Linked DNA regions of Homo sapiens: region 1 is linked to region 2. Evidence: promoter capture Hi-C in human tissues and cell types (Jung and others, 2019). All regions are on one chromosome and are shown on one strand. The core of a region is centred on a gene start or on the middle of the fragment in contact, and the rest is flanking DNA. Distances in the headings are between cores, read along the strand shown. Region 1 overlaps MAP1B (microtubule associated protein 1B). Region 2 holds the start of MAP1B (microtubule associated protein 1B).

Region 1 (2,700 bases), core at 113-2,612, 52 kb before region 2:
GAGGATTCTGGTCCCTGAGGTGGAGAGGGTGGGAGCCCCACTGTTTGCCCTAGTCTCTACTTTCTGTAGATTAGGAGATTTCAAAGACTAATCAAAGATTAGTCTTCTTTGATGTTGCCTATATATCTGTCTCAAGGAATGGAACTAGCTCTGTTCATTCTTCAGTAGGCTTAAAATGATATACGGTAGAATAAAATGATGACATCATGAGGCTACTGACTTGATATAAACAGAAGACACCATGGAACAACCAACCACAGGAACATTCATGAACCCTCCCACCTAAAGGGACTGCAAAAAATAAGGCTCATTTCTAAACAATGTAATCAGCCAGGCTATTCCCAGCCTACACTCATTTCCTAGACAATAGTCACACAGTTGTTTAAATAACATCAGCTATTTCAAGCCTGGCAAAATAAATACAGGCTCACAGAAAAGTATAATTTGTAGTAAAAGACCTAATACCATTGCTCTTGATCAAAGATGTGATTCCTTTTTCAGAGTCTTTTCCAAAACGGAATGAATACAGAAAGTTTTTTTGGTTTGGATTTTTTTTTTTTTTTAAGTTTCCAACATACAGCTGAAAACTGCCCTTTATTCTCGGTCCCTGATCCATAATAACATCCTCCCTCCTACCTTCTGATTCCCATTTATGCTCAAAGTGAAAATGGAAATACAAAAAAAGGGGAAGAAGATAAAGGAATGGCTGAAACTTCTTCCCTTGCTCAGTTTGAAAACACATTTTTACCCTCCTCCATACAAACTAAAAGAGTCATCACATTTTAGCTCTACAAGACGCTGGAGGAAGACAAGGCATAGAGAAGGAGCTAGTTGGGTGTGATTCTGATGAAGCCCCCACTCTTTACCAGGTGAACGTATTATTTCGTGTGGCTGGAGGCTGCATGTACTCAACAACCATGAGTAAGGCCTGGATCTCACACTATTCTGTCATGGAAAGTCATTTCCTTTAAAACTGAACTCAGACTCAAATGTGAACTTGGTATGAAGCTCCTAGTTCCTGTAGGGCCTCTGAAATCTTCACTGAATTTTCACAAATGTTTCTTTATTTTCATCATTGAATGCCTTGAAGGCTGCCTGCCTCTAAAATCTATCAACGCCAATGTTTTATGGCCATTAAGAGATTCTAGAAGGCACTTCTTCCTCCAGGGCATAAGTTAAATCACTGGTATAATGGTGTTTATCAACAATACAACAGCAGATGGTCAACTTAAACAGATATTTGTACATACACAGCCAAGCTTGAAGATGGCCCAGTGTTTACTTGCTAGTCCACAGGAAGTAGGCATCTAGTGATATTTTTCATTATGTTAACATACACTATCTATCTGCCTTTTTAGTAGCTTCCAGACACCAGACATTTTTGCTCTCTTCAGAGAAATTCCAAAGAATCACCAAGGACTCCTAAGAAATAAGTCCAAATGTAGGGACAACAGAGTAGTAACATACTGTACTAATCTAAACACTCTTCTTCAAAGAAAGATCACCTTTCTACAGTTTTTTTTCAGTACCCTTCTGTGAGTTCCAAAAGCAGCCTTTTTACAATCTTTCATCTAGGACTGTTTTTTTTCTTCCAGTCTTGATTGCACAAGGTTCCTTCTCTTCTAGAGGCTCTGAAAGAGGCTTTGGAGACTGGCAAACATAAGTTCAAATCCCAGCCCTACAACTTGCTAACTATGACCTTGGGCTGATTATTTAATCTCTCTGACCCTCAGGTTCCTCAATCGTACATGGGAATAACAGTACTCACACCCCATATGGCTGTTGTGAGGATTAAGTGAGGTCTTACAGGTAAGAAGCCTGGCATGTGGATACTCAAGAAATGGGTGTTGCTATAATCACTAGTGATTAGGCCATGTTGCCCAAATCTCTAACTTTCTGCATAAGTGAACCCTTTCAACATCAAATTATATGCATTTACATAAAACCTCTCTGGGCCCAGATTCTTGTCTCTAGTTATGCTCCATTCAAATGTCTTCTGCCCATGAGCACTTATACCCAAACTGCCTCACCACATACGAGTCTTAGAACAATAAGGGCACCAGCTTTTTATTACATCAATCCTACCTGTCGCCTTCCATATTCATTTCCACTGAGCCCAGGATTTGGGTCTCATTAGGAAATCACCAAAATTTCAAGTTGTCATTACTTTACCAATCAATACATCAGTGGTCCTCTCCAAATTAGTCATACTCAAATCACATAATTCAAACACCATTGAAAACTTCCTTCCCCTTCAACCATAGGGCAGCTCCCTTGTGCTGTGTTTAAAGGAATCCATTCACATTTTCCCAAACACCTCTCCTCTTTCTTTTCTCCAACTGCTTTAATCACCTAAATCGTTGTATGAAGTGAGACAAGATTTAAGGTTCATTTAGGTTTGCATCGTTTAGAGTTTCCCACTATCTCTTACTAATACATCAGATTACAAGGGCTATCATAAGAATCGGGGGATAGGCCAGGCACGGTGGCTTATGCCTATAATCCCAGCACTTTGGGAGGCTGAGGTGAGCGGATCACAAGGTCAGGATTTCGAGACCACCCTGGACAATATAGTGAAACCCCATCTCTACTAAAAATACAAAAAATTAGCCGGGCGAGGTGGCAGGCACCTGAAGTCCCAGCTACTCGGGAGGCTGAGGCAGGAGAATGGCGTGAACCCCGGGGGGCGGAGCCTGCAGT
Region 2 (2,700 bases), core at 182-2,681:
GCTGCGGAGGGACCCGGCGACCTCTGTCAGGAGCGAGGGGAGGGCCGGGACGCCAGGGATAAAGGGAAAGGCAGAGACCAGAGCTGCCCACCCAGGGACTCCCAGGGCAACAAAGCCAGGCAAACTGAGAGGTGGGGGCGCGCGGCCCCCGCCAGCCCGAGGCCCGGGCGGAGCGCAAGCCCAGCCAGCCGTGCCCGACGGGGGCGCCGCAGTGTGGGGGGGCAGGTGTGGCGGGCGGTCCGGAGGCACTGCGGCAGCTCGGGTGGGGCTGGGGGCGGTCTCTCTGTGCGCCCGAGGCTGTGCCCGCCGGACCCTCACGGCCCCGCCCAGGGTCCCCGGCGTACCGCTATTCGGCCTCCGCAGAGCGCGCCACTGGTGCGAGCACCGGGCGAGGAGCTGACCCTACCCGCTGACGTCTCCCTCACCGACCCCCTTCAAGCTACCACTCCCGAGGCTGGGACTTCTAAAAGCAGCAGCCCCACCCCGCAACTTGGGGTCCCATTGTCCTTTCTGAGAGCTGCAGCCAAGGCCCCAAGGGCGGTAGCGAGGCGGGCTCTGTCTGGTGGCGAAGCGCAGGCGGTTCTGCATCCCAGCATCTCCCCGGGGAGGGGGGGGCGGGGGGAGCGGGCGTGGCCCTAGGACTAGCCTAGTCATTCTGAGGAAAGAAAGGATCGGGAGGTTTGAAATCAGAAAAGGCGTTTCTCAGGGGCTGAGGTAGCCGTGGTGAGGATGAATCCCACGCGGGCCCTGGCACATGGGCTTCGGCCCCAGGTCTGCGGTGGTGGGGGTCCCAGCCTTTTCCTGAGGCCAGAAGAGGACTGAAAGGAGTGGTTGCATCAGGTCTCCCCCACCCTTCTGCCTCCTGCGGTTGCGGCTTTATTGTGGCCTCTGCTCCCCTGACACCTGCATTTCACTTAGCGGGAGAGGCGGTGGCCAACTCAGCACAGGCTGCGGACTCAGCGTGGTGACAGATCCCTCAAGGTTATTGGAGACTCTCCCTCTGGGTCTCATATCTAATAATTCGGATTATTCTTAATTAGCCCAGAAAGGGTCTGGACCAAGTATGAGAGGTGACGAGGAGAGGCATGGGTGCGGGGCGCGCGGGAGGAGCGCAGTGACCGTCGCGCCCTGGGTGGGGTCGTGTTTGCGCGTCTCCCAGCGCGCGTCTCTGGGGGCGCGGGGCCACTTACCGAGCTCGATGTTGCCGATGGCACGCCGCAGGTGCTCCTCGGTCACGATCTCGCCGACGACCACCAGCAAGTAGAACTTGCTGTCAAGGAAGCGGTGCGACAGGCTAGGCGAGGTGGACGCCGCCGGGTTGGCGATGCTGCCGGACGGCTCCGGCTCGGTGGCTTCCACCACCACGGTCGCCATCCTGCCGGCTGCTGTGCCTCGGCGAAGTGTCTCGCTCCGGCCGCTCCTCTCCACTGCGGCAGGAGAAAGGATTATCTCCGAAGGTACTGTCTCCGCTCCGCCCCCTGCGTCCCCCCTCCTCTGGCGCCGCGCGCCGCCTCCCCCTCCGCCCTCTCCCAGCGCCGCGGAGAGTGCGCGGCGGAGAGGAGCGGGGAGTGAGAGAGGGCGGGGAGGCGGCGCCGCTTTTATATGGAGACTAGGCAGGGAGCCGGGAGGAGGAGGAAGAGGAGGAGGAAAGGACCACCCGGCACATCCTCACGCGGTGGCTGCCTCCGCTCTTCCAGCCGTTGGCCCGGGGCTGATGTCATCTGCAGCAAATCATCTCGCCCGCGGCCCGGAAGCTGGAGGGACGAGGTGTGCGGACAATGGTCGGGGCAGGGCCGCGAGCCAAGGGGCTGGGGCGCCCGCTGAGCTCCTGCTGCAGCCGTGAAGGGGGAAGACGCTCTCAACCTACACCACCCACCACGTACACACCCACTGCCCACTCCTCACCCTCACCCTGTCTGTGCATGGGAATGGGATGAGTTTCCATTTTCGGAGTGGGGGTCTTTTCTCTTGTTGGAGTTGCACTAGTCAGGCCTCTGCCTTGTGTGCTGTGTATGATGTAGCCAGGTTCTCAGGAACTGGGATAGCCACAGTGGGCAGATGCGGGGCTGTGGGTACCCCGCCTAGGAAGACGGAACCTGTCTTTTCTTTGACCTTGTGGCTTTAAGAAGACGAATTTACTGATATTTACCAATATCAATATTTACCACCTTCACTTAAAGAATACATCAAAAATGCAAAACTTAAGCCTACTATTGTTCAGGCCTTGGATTCTACTCTGGCAGGGCCAAGGATGAAAAAGTACTGGCTTTGTGGTGCTCATGGGAAATGAGAGAAATGCAGATGTATTATATTAGATACCAATTTCTTTCCTTAATGTGCTGAACAGATAGTATCAGTAATAACAAAGAATAAAGAGAAGATACTGTCTCTACTCAGCAGGGTTACAGTGACTATAATGTACTTTTCAGTTCCTTGGGGAACACACAAGCAAAATTACCTCGTGACAATGATGTCTTTTAAAATACCTGTAGCATTGGGAATTTTTATTGCCTTTGTTTGTGTTTAGAAGAACTAAAAAATGTGTTTTTTGTTTTTGTTTTTTTGTTTTTTTTTTTAAGGCAGCCTATTTACAACCGTTTCTCACAAACATACTGAATATAGCTTCTGTCCCAGAAAAGGGGAGGAGGGTGAGGAAAGAGCAAAATGTGCAAACATGGTATCATAGAAGACTGGGGAATT

What was found. The method cuts DNA at HindIII sites, captures the fragments that hold promoters and counts their contacts. A contact is called where the count stands out against the background at its distance.
Region 1: a fragment that was not itself captured here is called in contact with the fragment with the promoter of MAP1B in region 2 in 1 of the 25 tissues and cell types used here (bladder).

Annotation. Positions count from the first base shown.
Region 1 is chr5:72,158,082-72,160,781 of GRCh38, reverse strand. The region is part of intron 2 of MAP1B (microtubule associated protein 1B); the gene reads right to left. Among named protein-coding and RNA genes, the nearest start is that of MIR4803, 10 kb to the left of the region's middle. RefSeq lists an enhancer at 2,173-2,672. The HindIII fragment of the contact is 3,214 bases long and covers 1-2,700 here.
Region 2 is chr5:72,106,206-72,108,905 of GRCh38, reverse strand. MAP1B (microtubule associated protein 1B) reads right to left here and starts at 1,431. Exons shown (of 7, transcript NM_005909.5): 1 at 1,191-1,431. The coding sequence starts at 1,374. LOC105379028 (a long non-coding RNA gene) reads left to right here. Exons shown (of 3, transcript XR_007058813.1): 1 at 1-131; 2 at 919-981. RefSeq lists enhancers at 1-124, 530-1,512. The HindIII fragment of the contact is 7,344 bases long and covers 1-2,700 here.